2 separate regions of the Homo sapiens genome follow, and region 1 is linked to region 2. The links are contacts of gene promoters, found by promoter capture Hi-C in blood cells and fetal thymus (Javierre and others, 2016). All regions are on one chromosome and are shown on one strand. The core of a region is centred on a gene start or on the middle of the fragment in contact, and the rest is flanking DNA. Distances in the headings are between cores, read along the strand shown. Region 1 has its middle 34 kb from the start of DNAAF10. Region 2 holds the start of GKN1 (gastrokine 1).

Region 1 (4,478 bases), core at 603-3,102, 850 kb before region 2:
GTGGCCCATAGTGGATTAGTGGGGACTGTGGCCGTCAGGACTCCCCCTTAGCTGAGGCTTCTGTGTCTTCTGTGTCTGCTTTCTTAGGGCCCTTTAGCCTGTGAGCTCTTAGGAATGCAGGAAGACCCTCTCTTTCCCCCTGGGTGGTAACAAAATTTCCCCTGGTCCATCATTCCTGAGCCCTAGTTCAGTCTGTGTGCGGCCAGGTCAGCGCTCAATAGGGTTCCAAACCTGTTGGCTGCAAGCACAGACTCCCTCTGAGTGTGAATGTTATCTCTCACCAGATGAGGGATGTGCTCAGCCCAGATCAAACACTTGTTTATCTACAGGGTGGTGAGAGCCAAAACTCTGCTTCTGTTTCTCCCTGGTGGTTTATTTGCTTACCCTTATCACCTCTGAGCAGTGGTGTTGTTTGCATAGAGTTCTCGGTTTCTGGCATGTTAAATTTAGAGGTACCCCAGGCTTCTCGGAGGGATCAGAGTGTTGAGCAACTCCTCAGGGAGGTGCAGGAGAATATCACTGGATGAGGGGTCAGGAGATGAGGGCCTGGGTCTGTCTTCAAATGCAGAAATTGAGTGCAGAGGTCTCAAAGGCCTCTTCTGGCACTGACGTTCTGACTGGCCATGAAAGCCTTGGGTGTCATAAAGAAGAAAAGTTGAAGACTTAAAAGGAGGAAGTGTGAGTGTCTTCAGCCTCCGGTGTGAGGGAGAACTGTGAGTCTCTTTTGACCACAGTTTATTTTGTGTTGCTTCTTTTAGCTGCATGGTCCATACGCCAAAGGTGGGCAGGTGGAGGGCTGCTACTCACTAACTTGGTAGTGCAGAAATGGCTTTTAAAAACAGTGGCTATATGGCTGCGCACGGTGGTTCATGCCTGTAATCCCAGCACTTTGGGAGGCCGAGGCAGGCGGATCACTCGAGGTCAGGAGTTCGAGACCAGCCTGATCAACATGGAGAAACCCCGTCTCTACTAAAAATACAAAAATTAGCCGGGCGTGGTGGTGGGCGCCTGTAATCTCAGCTACTTGGGAGGCTGAGTCAGGAGAATCGCTTGAACCCAGGAGGCGGAGGTTGCAGTGAGCTGAGATCGTGCCATTGCACTCCAGCCTGGGCAACAAGAGCAAAACTCTGTCTCAAACAAAACAAAACAAAACAAAACATTGGATCTGGTGCAAAGAAGATGGAGAGAAATTCTAGAATTCCTGCAGGAAGTTAAGTGATGGTATAAAGAAGTCCTTACTCTGAGAAATGCTTCGTTAAAATCAGAATTTACAGAATAAACGGTTGGTAGGAGATAGAGGCATGTACTATTTACTTTACAAAATAATTCCTCACTTTATAAAAAGCCAAATATTTTCTCTTGGAAGTTAGCCTTGTGATGCTACCAGTAAGACTGAATCTATAATAAAGCTAATGATCCAACTTTTGGTTAAAAAACCCATTCTGTAAAAAGAAGCATAGGCATGCTATGCAGTGTTGTTATATACAAAGTGGGTTTTCTTCATAAACACAATCACATTTTTGGAAGACATTTCTGTAAGATAATGTCTTTCTCAAGGTCCAGTTTGGCTTGCGTGCCTCCTGGGAATTAAACAGGATAGATTTTTCCAGCTGCATTTGAAAGACAAATTCCGTTTCCTTGTGTTGAAAGGTCTGCAATGCCCACATCTCCCACAAGGGGGCAGCGCACCACTGGGTCTTCAGGTACAAGGACGGCCTGGGATTCGGAACGTGCGGCTGAGGGGCCTCCTTCCCAGGGGAAGAAAATCCACTGAAAGTCGTGAAGAGGCGGACCTTATGTACCACGACATAATTGAATTTCATATCTCACGAACCCTGCGTATTTGCCAGAAACTTTCGGGCTGTTCTCATTCAGAAAAGGATGAAATCATTTTGTGTGTTGGATAGTCCTTAGACATTCCCAGAAAAAAAATTATTTTTCATGTATATATGCAAAGTGTATCCAGCTAAATCACAAGCAAAAGTGACTTTAAGCAGGTACCAAGACACGCCGGATCATAAAGACACTGTTCTCCCTTCAAGTTCCTTTGGTGAGTTTATGGACACGCATGAGGTAAGCTGCGCCGTTCATGTTCTACTGCGCGTGACTTTGTACTGCCCCTGAGTGGAAAAGGTATTTGGGATTCGAAAGAAGTTATTATTAAGTACAAACAAATTCCCAAGAAAAGAAATGTAGTATGAAGATCAATTTGAGTGTGTAGGGGGAGTTTTCCTTTCCTGTTTTTGTACTGGGCTGGGCTTGCATTGGTGCACATAAAGGATAATAAAAGTAACTTAAAAAACCAAGGGATTCCATGGTGTCTGGTTTACAAGAGCTGATGGAGAAGATACAATTGCCAAAAGGGAGTATTGGGTGCCAAGACCCAGATCTGGCCTAAGGAAGCACGCATTGGTAGCGCCCTAGTTTTCACCTCATGGGAGGACGCAGCCAGGGAGGCCGTGCTTGACGGCTCTGTCAGGGCGGCAGAATCCAGTTACACCTCCCAACATCCATTTCCCTACTTCCTCAGGACCAGAACTCCCAAATGGTAGCCGGGTATAACACTGCACACAATCAGGTTTATGCTTCTCGGTCTCACTGTGATAGGTGAGACCGAGACACAGGACCAAATCATCACCAATGGATACAAGCAAAAGTGCTCTTCAAAGTGCAAGATGTTCTTTTTCTTACTTTTCCTACTTTTCTGATGTCTGGAATGTGGATGTGATGGTTCAACTGGAACAGGCACACTGGATAATGCGTAATCTTTATTTTGGGTTTTCAGTTACCCGCAGCTGAACCTAACCCTAATCAACAACAATGCCTTCAAAAAACAGGCCAGAGGTTAAGATGGACTTTTTTTTCCTAATTACTTGTTTTATCATTATTTTATCATTTTAATCACCCACCAACATTTGCTTTTATTTATTTATTTATTTTTGAGACAGGGTCTCTCATTTTCCCCAGGCTGGAGTGCAGTAACACAGTCACCACTCACTGCAGCTTCAACCTCCTTGGCTCAAGTGATCCTCCTGCCTCAGCCTCCCAAGCAGCTGGGACTATAAGCTGTGCTACCACACCCAGCTAATTTAAAAAAAAAATTTTCTGTAGAGACAGTGTCTCACTATGTTGCCCAGGCTGGTCTTGAACTCCTGGCCTCCCAAAGTGCTAGGATTACAAGCGTAAGCCACTGCGCCTGGCCCAACATTTATTAAATGTTGTATTAAGGGGCCAGGGGCAGTGGCTCATGCCTATAATCCCAGCACTTTGGGAGGCCGAGGCAGGCAGATCACTTGAGGTGAGGAGTTTGAGACCAGCCTGGCCAACATGGCGAAACCCCATCCCTACTAAAAATAAAAAAAATTAACTGCGCGTGGTGGCACATGCCTGTAATCCCAGCTACTTGGGAGGCTGAGGTGGGAGAAGTGCTTGAACCCAGGAGGCGGAGGTTACAGTGAGCCAAGATCACGCCACTGCACTCTTCCTGGGTGACAGAGCAAGACTCAGTCTCAATTAAAATAAAAAAGTGTTGTATAAAGGGTATTGCTGAGTGATCTGGTTTTAAGTTGGCTTAGGGATAGAGTTGGATCAGAACACCATAAGCAAAGTTCAGTTGTTAAAGAATCCTTCATAAAATTCCTCCACCATGACTGTATAAATGCAGCTGTACTTGGTCACAGCCCTTTTACCTAGAATCTCATGCTTCAAGTTAAAAACACAAAGTCAAAATCCTGTTCCTTCATTCAAGCTTGATGTTTGATGTAAAATATACAAAACCTATGGACAACTGCATTAATGGCCATGCACTGTGAGGATAATCTGCATCTGCTTTCACTGTGCTGTCCTGATTAATAACCATTTTTCTGGTTCTGGGGTTGAGGACAAGGGTTTAGCCTCTAGATCCCTACACAGTAACAAAGATTCACAGTTTTCATACTGCCATTTGTCCATCCTAGACCCAGTAGGGAAAATGGATGAGTAAAGAATTTCTCACCACTCCAGGCAATATGCAGGTACTTAGGGTGGAATAATAGAGGACATTGTCCTAGCAGCCCTGAGTCCTCAGCTGGTTGGACAATGCACAGGACTTCTGTTAGCAGGTCCTGATAAGTCTGAGTGCAGCATGGGCCCAGTGCCCCCAAGCTCTCAGAGCAGCATTAAGCCCCGTTTTATTGGGACTGCTGGGTATGGCCCTGAGAATGGCGCCTGGCAGTCTAGTCTCATCCAAAGCAGGGAGGTGGGGCTCCACAACACAGTGAGAGTGGCCAGACATTCGGAGATAGAGGTTTCCTGGGTAAGCATAACCAACCTGCCTTTTAAAAAAACATAGCTAGCAGATGCCAACGCCACCGGAAGCCCTGTACTACCAGCGTGGTCAACTCCACCGTGTTCTTAGAAATTGCCATCGACAGTGAGCCCTTGGGCCGCATCTCCATCAAGCTGTTTGCAGACAAGATTCCAAAGACAGCAGAAAACTT
Region 2 (4,521 bases), core at 143-2,642:
CAGGAGGAAAATTGTGGGCACGAAGTTTCCAAAGGGAAAATTTATAGATTGGTAGTTAATGAAATACAGTTTTCCTCCTTGGCAAATTTAATTTACTAGCTTCACTGTATAGGAAAAAGCAGGAAAAAAATTAAAACCAACTCACCTCCAAACCTGTTTTGAGCTTTTACTTGTCTGCCCAATTGATAGTTTCTACTCTCTGCTTTTGATGAAAATATTTTTTATTATTTTAATGTAACTTCTGAAAACTAAATTATCTAGAAGCAAATAAAAAGATATTGCTTTTATAGTTCCCAGAAGGAAAAAACAAACACTAGGAAAGTTCTATCTATCAGATGGGGGAGATGTGATGGAGGCAGTGATATTTGAGCTGAGCCTTGAACAATGAACAGGAGTCTACCAAGCGAGAGGCTAGCGGGTGGCCCTCCAAGATAAAACAACAGCATGTACAAAGGCATGGAGACATACACATCTTGACTTTTCCAGGAATGGTGGGAACGCTGGTGGAGCTAGAATGTAGGTACATAGCATAAAGTGGCAGACGGGAAGCCTTTGGAAATCTTATTACATAGGACCCTGGATGCCATTCCAATGACTTTGAATTTTCTGTAGGCTGCCAGCGAAATTTCCAAGCGTGATAGAGTCATGTCTATCTATGCACTTCAGAAAGACAACCTCAGGGTTAATGAAGAAAATGCATTGGAATATAAGAAACTGGTGACCAGAGTGATCAATTGCATGACTGTTGTGAAAGTCCAGGTGAGGGGAGCTGTGGGCAAGGTCAGAGTTGAGAGGCATTTCAGAGATAAAATGACAGTAACTAAGTAGATGTCAGACTGAGAAGAAAGGGCTGTACCAGATATATGGTGCTATCATTAAGTGAGCTCAACATTGCAGAAAAGGGGTAGGTTTGGTGGGAGTTGCTCACAAAACATGTTTAGTCTAAGCAAAACCATTGCCATGGGCTCAGATAAAAGTTAAGAAGTGGAAACCATTCCTACATTCCTATAGGAGCTGCTATCTGGAAGGCCTAGTATACACGTGGCTTTTCAGCTGTGATTTTGTTTGATTTTAGGGATTATTCTTTTTCTGAATCTGAGCAATGTTAGCGTGTAAAATACTCACGCCCACAGCTTTGACTGGGTGAGAAGTTATCATAAATCATATTGAGTTTGTTGTGATACCTTCAGCTTCAACAAGTGATGAGTCAGGTCAACTCCATGTGAAAGTTCCTTGCTAAGCATGCAGATATTCTGAAAGGTTTCCTGGTACACTGGCTCATGGCACAGATAGGAGAAATTGAGGAAGGTAAGTCTTTGACCCCACCTGATAACACCTAGTTTGAGTCAACCTGGTTAAGTACAAATATGAGAAGGCTTCTCATTCAGGTCCATGCTTGCCTACTCCTCTGTCCACTGCTTTCGTGAAGACAAGATGAAGTTCACAGTGAGTAGATTTTTCCTTTTGAATTTACCACCAAATGATTGGAGACTGTCAATATTCTGAGATTTAGGAGGTCTGCTTCTTATGGCCCCATCATGGAAAATTTGTTTTAAAAAAATTCTCTCTTCAAACACATGGACACAGAGAGGGGAACAACACACACTAGGTCCTGTTGGGGGGTGGAGAGTGAGGGGAGGGAACTTAGAGGACAGGTCAATAGGGGCAGCAAACCACCATGGCACACATATACCTATGTAACAAACCTGCACGTTCTGCACATGTATCCCTTTTTTTTAGAAGAAGAAATAATGAAAAAAAATCTTTTTTCTATTTATATAATCATGGCATTTATAAGCATCTCTATAGAGAAGGATAATTGTGCTGAGATTAGACAGCTGTCTGAGCACCTCACACTGACCTATTTTTAACAAAATGACTTTCCGCATCACCTGATTCCGGTCTCCATGCAGGGTAAGCAGTTCCTAAGCCCTAGAAAGTGCCGATCATCCCTCATTCTTGAATTCCTCCTTTTATTTACCAAAATTCCTGAGCATGTTCAGGAAAGATGAAAAGCTTATTATCAAAATAAGTGGCTGAGATAGACTTCTTGTCACATTTGTTACAGTAAAATGGGTCTCCAAGAAAGAAAGATTTGCCTTGGGCTCTAGCATGGCCATTTATTTAAGAAAGCATCTGAAACATGAAGCTACCACAGCATCTCTCCTGTGGTTCCAGACAGAAGCCTGAGAGTCTAGGAGGAGGTGGACCGAGAAACCCTGCCAAAGTAACTAGTAGTGCCGGGTTTCTCACAACACGATGCAAAGGGGCTAGAATCAGATGACTATTTTCATGTTTCAACATACTACACACTGGAAAACGTTACGGCAGACTCTACTTTATAATGGGGCTGCAAATGTAAAATGACTACCTAGAACTAGGTCCTCTTAATAGCAGCAAAGTTTAAAAGGGTCAGAGGGAGCTCCAGACACAGGTTAGATTTGATTTCTCTCCTAGTTCTGCTGTGAACAAGAGGTATAAGTTTGGCCAACTCACTTAACCCCTGAAGCTCAGTTACCTTATCTGTAAAATGATTGCATTGTACTAGGTGTTCTCTAAAATTTCTTCTACCTCTGACTTTTTAGGAGACTAATTTTTAACTCCTTTTTAAGCTATTGGGAGAAAAATTTAATTTTTTTTCAAAAGTTACCTTGAATCTCTAGAGCAGTTCTCAAAACTATTTTGTCCCAGGCAAAGGAAATGAGACTAGGTACCCAGAATGAGGCACCCTGCATAAAGCTCTGTGCTCTGAAAACCAATGTCAGGGACCCTGTGATAAATAATTAAACCAAGTATCCTGGGACACTGCTAGTGACATCGCCTCTGCTGATCACTCTTGCCAGCGAGACACTCTATACTTGCTTTCTCATCATTGGCATCCAAACTGCCTACTAATCCATTGCTTTGGAAAGTTTTTTTTAATAAAAAGATTATTTCTATTAGGAAGAAAACATCCCATGTTAAATAGGAAAATTAACTGAAATCATTTTCAGATGTGATTTTTAGCACTTATAGCCATCTCAAACCATAGTATTCATTTATACTATGCTATTTATTGTAAAACTTCTTTTTTTTTCCAAGGAAAATAAGATAGTTTGCTTTATTTTAAAACAGTAACTTTCTTATATTGGGGCACTGACCAAAATTCAATACTGGTACAAATATGTTACCTAGGAGGTCAAAATATGTGCCAGGTGAATTTTCTGAATTTCTCTAAAGAGAGAATTTTAAACCTTATAAAACAATTAGAAACAAGTGAGTGAGAGGTGAGCATCAACAACCTGTGTAACATAAGCCACAGTACAAATTTAAGCTGAATAACCAAGCCATGTCAGTTATCCCAAATCATTTTTGTTAATATTTAGGAGGATACACATATTTTCAATAACTTAAAAGTGAATCTTTACTCCTATCTCTTAATACTCGAAGAAGTATAACTTTCTTCTTTTACTAGATTTAAATAATCCAAATATCTACTCAAGGTAGGATGCTGTCATTAACTATAGCTGAGTTTATCCAAAATAGAAAAATCATGAAGATTTATAAAGCATTTTAAAAATAATCATTTATAGCAAGTCCTTGAAAGCTCTAAATAAGAAAGGCAGTTCTCTACTTTCTAATAACACCTATGGTTTATATTACATAATATAATTCAACAAAACAGCATTCTGACCAATGATAATTTATAGGAAATTCATTTGCCAAGTATATGTTTTATTATAAAGTTAATATTTTGACCAATCTTAAAAATTTTTAAACTCTATTCTGACATTTCCAGAAGTATTATCTTAGCAAAGTCATCTTTATGATACCACTTATTAAACTGAAGAGAAACAAGATGGTACATTCTGGGTTTTACTTTAAAAGGGATTTGATTCAATAATTTGATTTATCACTACTTGAAAATTACATTTTCTTCCTCAGTACTGGATGGCAATGAGATGAAAGCAGCTTTCCTGGCTCTCAACTTCCCTTCTTCATCAATTTTTCCAGCGTTTCATAAGGCCTACACTAAAAATTCTAAAACTATATATCACATTAATATAATTACTTATAATTAATCAGCAATTTCACATTATCGTTAAAACCTTTATGGTTAAAAAATGCAAGGTAAGAGAAGAAAAAAACACATTGAACTAGAACTGAACACATTGGTAAAATTAGTGAATACTTTTCATAAGCTTGGATAGAGGAAGAAAGAAGACATCATTTTGCCATGTAACAGGAGACCAATGTTATTTGTGATTTCAGATTGTCTTTGCTGGACTTCTTGGAGTCTTTCTAGCTCCTGCCCTAGCTAACTATGTAAGTCTCACCTTTTCAAGTTTGCTACCAAAATGCATTTGCAAGGAAATGTGATATTAAATCACTCTCAATCTCTTATAAACTTCAGAATATCAACGTCAATGATGACAACAACAATGCTGGAAGTGGGCAGCAGTCAGTGAGTGTCAACAATGAACACAATGTGGCCAATGTTGACAATAACAACGGATGGGACTCCTGGAATTCCATCTGGGA

Evidence for each region. Contacts are between HindIII fragments. The CHiCAGO score rates a contact against its expected background, and 5 or more counts as called.
Region 1: a contact is called between a fragment that was not itself captured here and the fragment with the promoter of GKN1 in region 2, in 1 of 17 cell types (total CD8 T cells). The highest score is 5.2, in total CD8 T cells.

What each region holds. Positions count from the first base shown.
Region 1 is chr2:68,120,892-68,125,369 of GRCh38, forward strand. It overlaps the pseudogene PPIAP64. Among named protein-coding and RNA genes, the nearest start is that of DNAAF10, 34 kb to the right of the region's middle. RefSeq lists enhancers at 48-207, 438-607, 618-697, 1,546-1,840. The HindIII fragment of the contact is 3,787 bases long and covers 1-3,746 here.
Region 2 is chr2:68,973,244-68,977,764 of GRCh38, forward strand. GKN1 (gastrokine 1) reads left to right here and starts at 1,393. Exons shown (of 6, transcript NM_019617.4): 1 at 1,393-1,446; 2 at 4,252-4,305; 3 at 4,394-4,521. The coding sequence starts at 1,435. The HindIII fragment of the contact is 2,059 bases long and covers 1-2,014 here.